2 separate regions of the Homo sapiens genome follow, and region 1 is linked to region 2. Evidence: promoter capture Hi-C in 16 types of primary human blood cells and fetal thymus (Javierre and others, 2016). All regions are on one chromosome and are shown on one strand. Each heading gives the region's core, a stretch centred on a gene start or on the middle of the fragment in contact. The rest is flanking DNA. Distances are from core to core; before and after follow the strand shown.

Region 1 (7,752 bases), core at 2,062-4,561, 350 kb before region 2:
AATGAGGTGAGTCCAGTGATTGCTCAGGCGAATGGCCTGGAGGCAGTTTCTAGGCAGCAAAGCAGGGAGAGGGAAGCCAGAGACCAGTGGTCCTGCTGTGTTGAGGAGATGGAGATCAGTGTCACCGGAGGCCAAGGTGAGTAAGTGAGAGGAGAGGAGGCAGCAGCACACAGACAGAGAGTGCTGTAGATCTGCAGTGGGTCCCCTGGAGTCCTTGGTTGAGTGAAGGTGTTAGAAGAAACTACTTAAGCCAAGAAATGAGTAACTGGAAATTAGTAGAGCAAATAATTTACAGATCATCTATGGGGCTGGGAAAAGTTTGTGTTTCCACTAGCCAGAGTAGAAATAACTCATAATGCATGGGTCATCAGGTGGAGTCCTCCAACAGGTGTTGCCTTAGTACTGAGGTCAAATTGTCCCTAGACCAAAGGCTTCTTTGGACTTCCCCTAACAAAGCTTAAAGACAAGCCTTGGAAGGATCAAACTAATTTCAAGAAACTTAACTGTGAATCAGAATAAAACCCAATACCATTTATAGGAATATAACAAAATCCATCAACAAACAACATAACACTCATAATTACCAACATTCAGTAAAAAATTACTGGAAACAGAGAAATATAAATTATGGCCCATAATTAGGAAAAAAGGGTAATCATTAGAAGTAGAACCAGAAGTGACAGATATGAAGAAATTAGCAGCTTGAATTATGTGATGTGGCAGATCTTATGTATTGGAGGTAGGGGGAAAGAAGATGCAGTGTGGAATAGATGACAAGGCCCAATGAGAGAATCACAGTGCAGGTCCCTGGGGCCCTGAAGGAAGGTGGTTCTAACCACAGGAGAGGATCATATGCTTTTTGAAAAACAGCCTCTGCTGTGCTACTGGGCCCTGGTAGACACGGAACTTTGAGACCCAGTGATGCTGTATCCAGAACTGCTCATCTTAACTAGGTCCTGTGGGAAGCACTAAGTCATAAGCTAGTAGGATCGGCAGCAGCCCATTGGAAGATGGAAATGATATGTACAGGAGCAGTTCCAAGCCAGACCAGAGGACATAAGCAAACTGCAAGAGCAATTACTCCAACCGCCATGTCTGCACAGTGGCACCTACATCCCCCCTCCCTGTGGTTGTTGGAGGACCTGTATGATCCACTGAAGGAAGAGGAATGCTTGGGCTTGGTTTATTGATTAGTTATCTTCTGTAGTTGCAAGCTGAAAATGGACCTTCACTCAAAGGTGACATTGAAAAACGGGAAAAAAATTGCAATCTTCCTGCAAAAACTGGGCAGAATTTTTTGAGGTACACTGGATCATTCACCTTGTGAGGGAGGACAGGTAAAATATTTATGGAAGTGGCAGAAAATGGCCTGCCAGCTGATCAGGAGTTTGGGAGGAAAAAAACATGGATTAGGAGGTCTGGGGTAGAGGCATGTGGATGGGCATATGGAGTGAACACAGAAGTTGAAAAACTGTATCACATGTTAATGCCCACTAGATAGCACCCACCAGAGAAGAGGCACTAAACAACCAAGTAGATGAAATGACTTAGCCTGTTCTATTAGCTTTTGCCAGTGCCCACCTCAGTGCTGGTAAAATGCACACATAAAGTGGCAGTGGTGGCAAAGATGGAGGCTATGGATGGAACCCACCAACATGGGCTCCCACTTACCAAGGCCAACTTAGACACTGCTCACTGTGACTATCCAACCTGCCTGCAACAAATACCAATGCTGAGACCCTGATGAGGCTGTGAAGACCAACTGGTCGCTTGATAGCAAATTCACTATGGTAGGCTCATTCTTTCCTAGAAGCACCAGCAGTTTATTCACACAAGGACAGACTTCCTATTCTAGGTATGTGGTTCCTTTCGGGCCTACAGGGTCCTGAACACAATCTAAGGACTTACAAAACATCTGAACTGTCAGCGTAGATTTGCTGAATACGTGATCTATACATGTTAACACCCAATCAGGGAGAGTTCGCCAGCGGTCATAGGATCCACTGCTCCTATCACATACTGCGCCACCTAGAAGCTGCTAGACTGATGGAATGTTGGCATGGCCTGCTTTAGTGCCAGGTGGGAGACAATACCCTGCCAAGATGTGCCACCGTCTCCTGCACACAGTATACTTATTGAATCAGAAAGCCTGTATGATGCTGTGTCTACAACAGGAATATATAGATTTCAGAACCAAGGAGTGGAGGCAGGAGTGACCCCACTTACCATCGCACCCAACGAACCACTGAGGGACTTAGTACTTCCCATGCCCACAACTCCAGGTTCTACAGCATCAGAAGTCCTAGTTCTCAGAGACTGTATACCTTCTCTAGGCAATATTGCAAGAATCCCATTGAACTACAGTCTGCTGCTACTATGTGGGCACTTTGGACTCTGTGTTCAGGGACCAGTAGGCAAGAAGTCACCATCTAGTCAAGGGTAATTGACCCTGAACTGCAGGAGGAGGCAAGCCTGCTGTCAGAGGATAGTGGCGAGAGCAATGTGTGTGGAACTTAGCGGACCCACTGGAGGCACCCTCTGTACTCCTTGCCCAGTTGTAACTGAATGGACTAGTGCAGCAACCCTGGTCTGAGAAGGGTTTGGCTCCCAGGAGCTCAGGACCCTCAGGAATGAGAGCTTGGTTTATACTATCAAAAAAGCCACCAAGACCAGCAAAGATGACAGTTGTGGGTGAGGGGAATTTAGAATGAAGCAGGGAGTAATGAGGACCAGTTGTGGTTCCAAAACCATTTGCAGGAAGGTGCTATAGTTGGTCCTACCAAACTCCTCTTTCAACATTTATCCTCAGGAAGAGAGGTCCATTGGCGCCCTGAAACAGTCACTCTCTGCGTGTTTTTGGGAAAATGGATCCACATAGGCAAGGGGTGGACCATGGCAGGCATAGAGCGGTGCCACTTAGATCCCCCTTCAAGACAAGATATGCCATCCAGCTGCAAGGAGTGTGGGTAGCTGGCAGCCACCAGCTGCTACTTCACCAGGATCCACCTTAGCTTTCAAGCTGAGGTCACGCTATTCTCAAGACAGGAGGGGTTGGTGGCCAATGATTTCACTAAATTATGGAAATTGAGAGCATGCTTTTCTGAGGGGGCCCTCTTGCCAAAGACCAAGCAAGGCCATGGTACAAGGACCTAACTGTTTCAGTCCAACACAGGACTCCTCCAATGAGTGACCTTTTTCCCAGAGTTCCCCTGGGATGGCAGCTCGCCTGCTCTCCCTGCCTCGTCCTGCTTCCTCTTTTCCTTTCAAAGGTGCTTACTCCAATAATAAATCCTTTGGTATTCTAACTGTCTACTTCTTGAAGAATCTAAACTGGCAGTAGGATCATGCCCCTCACTGATAGCTCAACCACGTTTTCTATCTTTGGGCCTCCTTGTCTTTACCTAGCACATGAGAAGCATTTATTAGGACTTTTTTTCCCCCATTGCTGAACAAATGACTACAGATTGCTCTACCTCTTGTTCTGTGAATAAAGGCTGGCCGCTGTGGAAGGTAGGTCAGAGCAGGCAACTGAGAGAAACTGTATTACAGTTACCGAGTGGCTTATTAAGGAAAGTGGCGCAACAATCAGGTCCATGTTTCATTCAAATGACCCTCCATTCCCCCAACAACATCCTCACATCTGCCAAAGCAAATTATGCTGCTGTGCTCATTTGATGATGGAATCAGCATCGCATGCAGGCTGAACCCCTACTACGGCAGAACCAAGAAAGCCACTCTTTCCCCTCTCCTCCTAAGATGCCACCACAGAGCAGGGTGCCAGTGGTGGGTGGGGAGAAAGACGGAGACACAGAAACGTCTCCTTTTCACTGTGATTCTCCTAAGGAATATACAGTCACCCCCACAGGAAAAGCAAGAGTTCAATCAAGATTCTTCAGAAATAGTAGGATGGCAGAAAGCAGATCGCATTGAGGTTGTTTCCAACTGACAGACCAAGCAGTAATTTGTTTCTCTCCCCACTGATAGTAAAAATAAAGTGGAAATAATTTAGGGCTGGGGCTTCTGTGATTATCTGGAACTTAAAGTATGAGGGTATGAGAGCCATCAGATCTACCCCTGTGGAGCTTTTTAAGATGCGGTCCATAACAGAAGCGGGCCCCAAGGAGTAGAGTAGCCACATGGAAGGTGCCATGTTTCAGGGATGAGTCTCGATTCTTCTCTCCCTGTATTTCATCCATGCCTGTAAGAAGTTCTCACGTCTCTCCACATGCCACGTCATCTGAACCGCCAGGCGATAGGTTATTCGTATTTTATTCCAAAGTCCATAGGACACGATGTGGACTTGTTTTTCCACGTGCCCTTGTAGATGGTGCCATCCAGTGTCTGTGATGTTCCACCTCCTCTGTTGGGTTGTCACCTCCCCCAGAGACCTTCTGGTCTCACTGCTTTTCTGTTTGTATCCAGCAAAACACTCAACAATTCTGTATAAGAACACCTATCTCATTATTCAAAAAAAATGCATGTATAAACAAAAAGAAATATTTCAAATATTTACTTTACAATTGTTTTATTCAAAGGAAATTAAATACAAATGTATATTTTTCATTAAAAATGGGGATTTAAAAATAGTTTTATAATTAGTGTTATGTTGCTTTATCTTATCTTTGCATAAATTATGTATTATTAAAGGTTTCTGATATCCATATACATTCTAGTCTTTTTTAGGCAGCTATGAGAAGATTTCATATTCAAAAGCCAATGCCACTTTTCTAAAGAAACGATCTTTGTGCCAAATTAGTAGACAATTGCTCCAAATCTCTGGTCTTGACTTCCGGTTGTGTGAAGAGCAGTGTTTTGTTTTTTTCAGAGAAGGGAAAGAGCCTTCATTCTTTAGGTTTGTTTTTGCCTCAAAGACATTTCTATATGGGTATCTAAAGTTTTAGTTTATAAGTCTCATAATGATTTGACCCATGCAGTCCAACTTTTAGATAGTATTTCCATACCCCCCAAAAGCTGGCAGGTGGTAGTCGCACTAGATTCAGACCAAGACTCTCCGCATTGTCATCCTAGGTCCTTCTAATGAAGAAGACAATACTCTAGTTTATTTAACAAATAAAGGAGTCTAAGTACATGGAAGTTAAGGGAGTAAGGGTGGGGGTAATGAGATTATTACATTAAAATAAAGACTTCACACACGTGTGTCCCATGTCTAAAATTGTTGAAAATCTGATTGGAGAAGATTAGAAGTAATTAGCAACTCAATTATTTATAAACAAATATAAAAATGCACAAACCAAATGATGCAAAAAAACCTTTTTAATCTAAAAATTCATTTCCCAGGGCTAATTGATAGCCAGGCCCTACCAATTTTTATCAGTTTATTTGACTAACAAGAGCTATTCAGCATTTTCTTCAAAGTAAGATAATATATAATAGATTTTGATAAATCTTTCTGAATTAGGACATGATACTGTAGGCAGTTCAAGGAAAAAAAAATAGCCATAACTTTTTCTTTGGTGTAACCAAAAGGATATCCAAAAGTTAGCAAATGTTGACATTTCAAGTGACAGGAAATTGCCTAATGGAAGTTTAAACTCTGGTTAAAAAAAAAAAAAAAAAAAAACTGTTGTAAAAGGAAAAGCTCCACCCATAGTTCTGTAGTGCAAGTTTTCAAATTTAATTCTGAAAAATAATTTTATTTCATAGGCAGGAAACAAATTCCAGCAGTGTATCACTTACTCCTTTCCAACCCTTCCCCTCTCTCTATGTCCACACCATCACTTCAGTTGTCAATGACCTCAGCTGCTACTCAAGGAGGAAATTCATTAAAAAATTACCCACACTTCTAAAAATCAGGCTACAATTGTGTGTATGTGGCTGCACAGCAGCAGGCACCAGGTTACAGCATTGCCACTTCTACGTTTGTCATTTTTACAAAAAAGAAGCAAAGTCTACCTCCCCCAGAAAAAAGTACCTGAACCAATTAGTCACTTAGCCCCTTCCCAGCCTCTCCGTGCTCACCAGACCTGCCTCACCTCAGCAGCACACGTGTGCATATATCTGTGTGTTCTGTGCATTAAGAACCAGCAACTCTACTGCCTCTTTCTTGAAGTAACATCTTCTCCTTTCTTACAAAACTCGCTGATTTCTATAAACGTAATTCTCTGAAAGCAATTACCGCCTAGACCAGAGGACTCCGTTACTCTACCAAGCTTAAGTCTGGCTTGCTTTCTTCTATTTCTGTACATGTTGTTTGTGTATATGTGTATTTTTTAAAAATTAAAAAGTGTGGAAAATGCACACATACACACCCAGCATTTAGCAAAAAAAAAAAAAAAAAAAAAAAATCTTCCCCGGGAAGCACTTTCAGAAGTTTAAGCTTCTACTTGTTCTTAAGCCACAGGGCAAGTGCCAGGTGAGTCCTAAATAACCGTTCACTCACACTGCAGGGCTGGCAACCCCGGGGCCCACAGCACAGAAGCAGAGTGGGCTCCCCGGGTGAGCCAGGGAAGGGCGCCTAGCAGGCTTCCTAGAGTGCTGCATTGCTCGTCTCCCCCCGTGTCACCTGGGAGAGTTACGTTCTTGGCCCTAACTCTCCTCGCTCAGAGAACCGCCACACTGTGGGGAGGGCTCTCTGCCCTCTGCACTGGCTGTCCCATCCACAGGGCCGGGGGCCTGGGGCTGCAGGGAGGCGGCAGGCCCCTCCCCACAGAGCAGGCCGCCCTCGTCCATCTCCTCCCTCGCCAGTCCGTCCAGGGAACATCCCTCCGCAGCGCCCAGAGCCCCGCGGGCTATGCTGTCCACAGGCTCCACGGCTTCCCCTTCTCCCTCCGAGATGACGGTCATGGGGCTGCTCTGGATCCGGTTCCGCATGCTGTACCTGCTGCTGGCGGCAGAAGGCGGCGTTCGGCTGCGGCCGTACCTGGGGCCGGAAAAGGACAGACTCCGAGGCATCAAGCCTTCGTTCTTGGCCCACTCCTCCTGCGCCCTTCTGTTCTTGCTTGGGGAGCAGCTTGACGGGCTCTCGGGGGCATCTGGGGAAGGCTCTGACCTCGACCTCTGGAATCTAGGGTCTGTGTTCTTGAGCATCTCTGCTGCAGACATGCGGGCGCTGGTGTCTGAACGACTGCCCTTTTTCAGCAGCAGAGCTTTGAAGTTGTCACTGCTGGTGCTGCTCTTTCGGATGCTTCTCTGAATCGACCCCACTTGCTTTGGAGAGGCCAGGCTTGGGGCAGCGCCGGTGGGTGTCACGGGCGGGGAGGGAGAATGGTTTCGGGAGTGGTCATCATCTGAATCTCTACGGCCGAGGACTTTCCTTTTGGATCTGAGATTTAATAACATTAAGAAAAAGGTTAATTCCCACGGGACCACAGGCTGTCAGCCACAACCACTCTGCTCTTATCGCATCTTCAGGTCACCATCTACTTAAGATTCACTTTCAAAAAATTTATTTTTGACTGGGCACAGTGGCTCACACCTGTAATCCCAGCATTTTGGGAGGCCACGGTGGGAGGATCACTTGAGCTTAGGAGTTCGAGACCAGCCTGGGCAACACAGTAAGACCTTATCTCTATTCAAAAAAAAAGAAAAAGTAATAAATGCATAATTTATTTTATTTTTTTGAGACTCACTCTGTCGCTCAGGCTGGAGTGCAATAGCGCAATCTCAGCTCATTGCAACCTCTGCCTCCCGGATTCAAGCGATTCTCCCTGCCTCAGCCTCCCAAGTAGCTGGGATTACAGGCACCTGCCACCATGCCCAGCCCAGCTAATTTTTGTATTTTTAGTAGAGACG
Region 2 (7,377 bases), core at 4,651-7,150:
GGCAGTTTATAAAAAACCATATATGTAGGAATGTTGTAAATGTCTATCCATATAACTTATTATTTTTTTTTTTTTTTTGAGATGGAGTCTTGCACTGTCACCAGGCTGGAGTGCAGTGGCACAATCTCGGCTCACTGCAACCTCCGCCTCCCATGTTCAAGCGATTCTCCTGCCTCAGCCTCCCGAGTAGCTGGGACTACAGGCATGTGCCACCACACCCAGCTAATTTTTGTATTTTTAGTAGAGACACGGTTTCACCATGTTGGCCAGGATGGTCTCCATCTCTTGACCTTGTGATCCGCCTGCCTCAGCCTCCCAAAGTGCTGGGATTACAGGCATGAGCCACCGCACCTGGCCCATATAACTTTTAAAGTCTGATTTTGCCCCTTGTTTTTCCAAAGCCATTAACAACAACAACAACAACAAAATACTTAAATTGGTAAGGGCCTCTGTGTTCATTTTTGGGCCTCTCACTAATACTTAAGATGTACAGCCTAGAGGCTGGGCACAGTGGCTCATGCCTGTAATCCCAGCACTTTGGGAGGCTGAGGCGGGGGGATCACGAGGTCAGGAGATGGAGACCTTCCTGGCCAACATGGTAAAATCCCGTCTTTACTAAAAATACAAAAATTAGCTGGGTGTGGTGGCACCTGCCTGTAATCCCAGATATTCAGAAGGCTGAGGCACGAGAATCGCTTGAACTTGGGAGGCGGAGGTTGCAGTGAGCCAAGATTCTGCCACTGCACTCCAGCCTGGTGACAGAGTGAGACTCTGTCTCAAAAAAAAAAAAGTGTACAGCCTGGAGTAGACAAGAGATGGGGTTTCCCCCAACTCCCGGTCTGGTGCACTTTCCATGACACCATACCATGCTCCTCCATAAATGGTGGCTCCCAGCTCTTCACCACGTGGTTCTTCCTTTCACTATTAACAGTTCCCAAAAGGCTTGCTCATCTACAATAGCACAGCTCTGAAGGCCTTCAGTGCTGGATAGTTCAGATCCAGTCTCTTGGCACCCTTTTTAGAGGGTGTCTCAAGGAATCTTACCAAGTTTTATAATAGTAGTCATAGTACAGTATGGCTTTTGAAATAACTTATTTTTTCAGGTCTGAGCTGTAAAGCAAGCCTATATAACACCTCACTATGGCCCATTTCTCTTAACTGGCCTTCCTGTTTCCATTCTTCTATAGAATAATCTTTTAAAAATGTAACTTAGACCATGTCATGCCTTAAAACTCTCCAATGCCTATTGCTGTGCTTAGGGGAAAAAATACAGATTTCTTATATTGGTTTAAAAAACCCTTCCTGACCTGACCCTCTGGCAACCTTGGGGACTTCATCTCATACTACTTCTTGTCCCCCTGCACTCCAGACCACTACGCTGGCATTCTTTCAGTTCCGTGAACATGCCGAGCTCATTTCTGCTTTATGACTTCTTATCTTTTTTCTTAGCTGTTTCCTGAGCCAGACACGCAAAGAAGCATTAAGCAGTTACTATCTTGGCCAAGGCATTCCGGCATCAGGGGAAATGGAAGTGGAAGCACACTTAGAAAATGATGGATAGGCTTCTGGGTAAAAACAAACAAAAACAAGAAACAAACAAAAAACATCTCTTCCCTATAAGAACCACAAAGGACAATACAGGAATGACTGTGCTTCAGGCACTGAGAGTATCCATTTGCTTTGAGATACCTGCCTTCCCCTTTAGAGCAACAGTCCCCAATCTTTTTGGCACCAGGGACCAGTTTAGTGGAAAACAATCTTTCCATGGATGGGGCGGGGTGGGGGTTGGGGATGAAACTGAAACTGTTCCACCTGAGATCATCAGGCTTTCGTTAGATTCTCATAAGGACCACCGCCCACCTAGATCCCTTGCATGCGCAGTTCACATTAGGGCTCAGGCTCCTATGAGAATCTCATGCCACTGCTGATCTGACAGTAGGTGGGAGCTCAGGTGGTAATGCTCCCTCACTGGCTGCTCACCTCCTGCTGTGTGGCCCAGTTCCTAACAGGCCACGGACTAGTTCCAGTCTACAGCTGGAGGCTGGGGACTCCTGCTTTCATAGCGCCCTAACTTTCTGAAGGGAAAGGACAATGCATGTTTGTAGCTCAACTAATGAGGCTGTACAAGAGAGGCTTCCAAACCCATTCATCACCTGAGGACCTTACAGAAAGAGAGGTTCCTGACTCAAGTAAAATGTGAAAAAAGTTATGACACTTCTGATTCGAATGGAAACTTGAATACTTACTGAATATTTAATAACATTAATCATTCATTGCTGCTTAGGAATCATAAAGGCATTGTGGTGAAGTCTTTAAAAGTTTTAATCTTTTAGCAATCTATATTAAAATATTAGGGATTAAATTATATCTGAGATTTACTTCAACATAATACTAGAGACTGAAAAATGTCAGAAGAGGGGCTTTTTTTTTTTACAGGTTTCATCTGAATACATATTTATCAGATCAATATTACAGGTTATCACATTATCTACTACATACAGCTTTGCAAGACAGAAATCACAGTTTTCTGGCCAAGGTATGAAATGATTGCATTGTATATACAATGTACAAGGACAATGACAGTTTCTGGGTGATTTACTTCTAGCTGCACTTGTGGGTGTGTTTACGCGTGTCCATGTGAATCACCTGAGATTATGATATCAAAAATTTATAAGTATAAATTCGGTTATAATTTTCTTCTCAAATGCCTGTTTCTTTTCTTATCCTCATAGCACCCTAAAAAATAACATAACAAAAATTCCATTCCATAAAGGATCAGGGTCAACGTCACTGGTAACAGCTATAATCGACATCATTGGCCAGGGGTTAATGGCTGGATGAGGGATTCATTATAGTCTTCTGTCTTCCTCAGTATATGTTTGAAATTTTCCATAAGACAAATTTTTTTTAAATAGAGATTTCTGGGCCCCCAGCAGATTTTTCTCTCAATGGCTCTCCACTGCCACTACTAGGAAATTCGCCAGCAGTATTCCTCCTTACCTACCTATGCTATACAATGTATGAGTACTGGGAGGCAGGGGAAGGGTCTTGTTAATCAAAGCTCCCATCCTCTAAATATAATCCTCAGGAAGAAAGTATATGATTGGAGTAATTTATACAAGGTCTGCATTTAACAGTTAATCCAAAGAATGGATGCTTACAGTTTAAAGGAATTAAAGGAAAATCTAGAAAATCTGAAAGATCATTTCTCTCAGGGAGGAACTCTAGATTTTAGATTAAAGAAATCACACTTGAAACTGTACCTCTACAACAACTCTATCTTGCGTCACTCTGTCCCTAGCCCAGTACAATTCACCTCACTAACCCTCTGCTTCCTCAAACATGTTAAAGTTCATTTTGCCTAATGGCCTGCATTTTAGCCGTATGTTCTATTCAAGAATGCTTCTTTTCTTCTCCTTCTCCTTCTTATTTTTTTTTTATTTTTTTGAGACAGGGTCTCATTTTGTAACCCAGGCTGGAGCACAGTGACATGATCATGGCTAACTGCAGCCTTGACCTCCTGGGTTCAGGTGATCCTCCCACTTCAGCCACTCAAGCAGCTGGGACTACAGGCCTGCATCACCATGCCCAGCTAATTTTTGTATTTCTTGTAAAGACAGGGTTTTGCTATGTTGCCTAGGCTGGTCTCCAGCTCTTAGGTTCAAGCTATTTGTCTGCCTCAGCCTCCCAAAGTGCTGGATTACAGGCAAAAGCCACCGTGCCTGGCACTCAAGGACTCATTTTCCTCAGATCATTCCATGGCTGGCTCATGCACTTTATTCATATCTCTACCTCAAAGCTGCATTTTCGGGAAGGCCTTCCCTGATACTTCTCCTTCAGTACAAACTACTTTTGACCTTAAGCTGTTATTTCAGGACTCTCATCTGACTAAATGAAACTATTTTATTTGCATACTAATTTATTGTCAGTCTCTTATATCGGGAATATAAGATCTCTGACTATAAAGCTCTTGTACCTTTTGTTGATAGATGCATCCTGACCTCCTATCACAGGGTGTGGCTAAAATAGGGACTTAAAATAGGTATTCAAAACCTGAATACCTATTTCTGAATACCTGAAACATGTCCATTTAGAAGGGTACTTTCCTGTGTCCCTACATCATGTTGGAGGTTGTAAACACAAATGCTACAGGGCTCAGATGGGTACTAAAGACAAAGAAAAACTAGATATTACTTGAACTGAGGTAAAGGAGGCAGATGCTTTCCAGCTTGAACCATTGTTGCCAGGCTACAATGCACATCTAACGTAGTCAGATCTTCCCGTTAATTCATGGGATGCCACATTGTTTTTATTCTTTCAATTTTAGCTGTTAGCAACCAATTTGAAAAAAAAAAAAGTAGCATGTGAATCACCAGTTGCAAGCTCTGTTCATACAAATAAGACAATTCGACATTAATTAAAAGGAGAAACTGGGAAAAGATATTGAGCAGACTGTACAGTAGTGTTTGTAATGGTGAAAAATGGGAAACAACCTAAACATCCATCACTATGGGAATTCCCAAATAATTTGTGACAAATCTATTTGATAAAGTCTAGCTATATTTATCAATGTGGATAGCTCTCAAAAACACAGAATTTGGTGAAAAAATCAAGTTGCAGATCAATACACAAAATATAATAGCATTCATGTAAAACTTCAAATGCCCCAAACCATTCTACATATTGTTTATAATACATAGTAATAGTTTAAATATAGAAACCTAGATTGGCAAGATACATATCAAATTCATGATCCTGGTTGCCTCTCTGAGGGTGGTAGTAGAATGGGACTGAGAATAGGGAACACCTTCTTTATCTGTAATGCTCCATTTCTTTCATTCATAAATCTGTTCGTTCTGGATAGTGGGTGCGTTGTTTATTCTGTGCTTTTTTTTTTTAACATTTCAATAGTTTTGTTTTTTTTTTTTAAATGGCGGGTGGCGGAAGAACATCCTATCCTAGAAGCCAAGAGACTGGGGTTGTCTTTGCTCTGCCTTTTCTGGCATGGATACAATCTCTAGATATGGTTTCCCCATTAGCTAATGCGGGGGGTGCTATGTGGTGTTCCTCCAGAGTCCCTTCAATCTAAGGACCTGTGAATCTAAAACCTTCCCACCTCCCACTCCAACACCGGGAAGGCTACCCAGACCAGGCAATGAAACGTGCATTTCTTCCCTCATTTAAGATAGATCTCTTTCTCTCAGCCTGCAATTCCTTCTCCAGAGGCTTTAAGTATAGTGGAAGTAGAACTATCTTTGACGACAGAGAGACACCTGCATCAATTAGCCTTTCTGAGCCTCAAATTCCCCATTTGTAAAACAGAGAGTATAACACCTACCCATAAAATTGTAGAGAGGTTTAGATACACCGTTATGTGTAGGGCCCGAACAGAGTAGCTATTAATAGTGGTAACAGACTCTCAATTAGGGGCTCAACATCATGGTCGCTGAACAGAATCACGGTCGCTGAACAGAATCACACTCTTCACGCCGCCTTGGAGCCAAAATTAGTTTAGCCGCGAGAAGTCCGGGCAACCAATCGGAAACAACCAAGGAACAGTTGCATGGCGACACTCTGGTTCCGCCTTCGGGCATGCTCGAACAGCATTCTGGGAATTGTAGTTCGGGGGGGGAATCTAACACTCACCGAGGGGCGGAGTAGCTTCCGGAAAGGGTACTGCATTTCCCGTTTCTACCTCCACTGCACCCGCTTATTGCGTCTTGCTCCTGGGTCACAGAGCCTAAAACGACACACCCAACACGCCCGCCGGAGTTACAGCTAAAGGAAGGACAGGGGAAGCAATGAAATGCCGAGGGCGGAGCCAAGAGCGACACTGGGGGAGCAGGAAAAGGCGGGGCTTCCGCTTGGGGCATGGAGGCTGTACCTCTTACGTCACTTCCGTAAACAAACGGAGCTGCGGAGGAGCGGGTCCCGGGATGTGACCGGGGCTCTGCTTGTGGCTGCGGCGGTGGCTTCTGAGGCTGTCGGGTCTTTGCGGGTTGCGGAAGGGGGCCCCAATACCCTTCTTCTTCAGGTATGTAGTGGAAGCAAAGGAACCTCCGCAACCTGCCCCTTTAGGCCCTTCCCACCACTCTGGTCACTGCTGGGTACTGGGCGGTGAAGGGTCATCGCTTCGGTAGATTGGGGAAGGGGAATGAGGTGATGTCAAGAGGGATGCCCAGTGGTACTGCTTGGAGGCAAGACCTGGCACTTAAAACCACTGTGTGAATAAGTAACTATGAGCAGTTTACTTATTATGCCTTCTCTAAAACATTCTTTGCTGTTTGATATACAGGAAGGGTTTCAGTGCTCTTGTGACAGATGTAATTTTCCAAAAACGAGGAAATCGCGAGTGCTGGCTCCGCAGAATATTGTGGTTTAGACCACCACTGGTTTATTTGCATTGCTTTACTTCCTAGATTTTTTTTTCTTGTACCACCAAGTGTGTATTAGCATCGTTAAATTTCAGGCCAGCGTGTTTATGCGTATCATACATTTTTACAGATCCTTGCCTCTTCAGAGAACTAATCGTCTCTATTCAGTCATCTTTCAAACTCTCATTTAATTTGTGTTGCATGTTGAAACAACACCAGAATTATTGTTCTGTTACAAAAAATGCTTCTTAAAAGAAAAATTGTTAGCCAAGGTTTAAGTGGATTGACACCCAGTGGTATCTGGGATTAGAGACTGGGCATTGGAGCCTTTCCCAGAAAGCCTCTTCTTTGGCAGTATTGTAGCTCCAGTTGTAATTGTCTAGCGTCAGCCAATTTAAGCTCAGTGGTTTAAATTCCAGTGCCAGTGGCACTAAGTCCAGGCAAAAGGAAAAAGAAAAATTTATTGAATTCATCAAATAATTATTTTAAGCGACAGCAATGGGTTTGAATCTTTTTGAATGGTCATGGCATGCCTAAATTAAACACAGCATGCCAAAAACGGCCTAATGTTTCTAGAAGGCAATTTACAACCTGATGAGGTAGAGATAGCCATATAAATTCATCTTATGATATATGAAATAATGAAGTTAAGAAAAATTTAACACTATGCACAAATAAAGTATGGAAGGGGTTTTTTTGTTTTGTTTTGTTTTGTTTTGTTTTGTTTTTGAGACGGAGTCTCGCTCTGTCGCAGTGGCACCATCTCGGCTCAGGGCAAGCTCCGCCTCCCGGGTTCATGCCATTGTCCTGCCTCAGCCTCCTGAGTAGCTGGGACTACAGGCGCCCGCCACCACTCCCGGCTAATTTTTTGTATTTTTAGTAGAGACGGGGTTTCACCGTGTTAGCCAGGATGGTCTCGATCTCCTGACCTCGTGATCCGCCCGCCTTGGCCTTCCAAAGTGCTGGGATTACAGGCGTGAGCCCGGCCGGAAGGGTATTTTTT

What was found. The method cuts DNA at HindIII sites, captures the fragments that hold promoters and counts their contacts. A CHiCAGO score of 5 or more calls a contact.
Region 1: a fragment that was not itself captured here is called in contact with the fragment with the promoter of CCDC28A in region 2 in 1 of 17 cell types (endothelial precursors); the score reaches 5.5 in endothelial precursors.

Annotation. Positions count from the first base shown.
Region 1 is chr6:138,417,535-138,425,286 of GRCh38, forward strand. HEBP2 (heme binding protein 2) reads left to right here. Exons shown (of 4, transcript NM_014320.3): 4 at 1-4,663. It overlaps NHSL1 (NHS like 1), which reads right to left. Exons shown (of 8, transcript NM_001144060.2): 8 at 4,509-7,282. The coding sequence ends at 6,547. Among named protein-coding and RNA genes, the nearest start is that of MIR3145, 14 kb to the right of the region's middle. The HindIII fragment of the contact is 5,714 bases long and covers 455-6,168 here.
Region 2 is chr6:138,767,869-138,775,245 of GRCh38, forward strand. CCDC28A (coiled-coil domain containing 28A) reads left to right here and starts at 5,901. Exons shown (of 6, transcript NM_015439.3): 1 at 5,901-6,034. It overlaps CCDC28A-AS1 (CCDC28A antisense RNA 1), which reads right to left and starts at 5,835. Exons shown (of 3, transcript NR_161205.1): 1 at 5,647-5,835. RefSeq lists enhancers at 4,952-5,626, 5,627-6,300, 5,664-5,713, 5,734-5,793, 6,154-6,213 and 1 more. The HindIII fragment of the contact is 8,118 bases long and covers 1-7,377 here.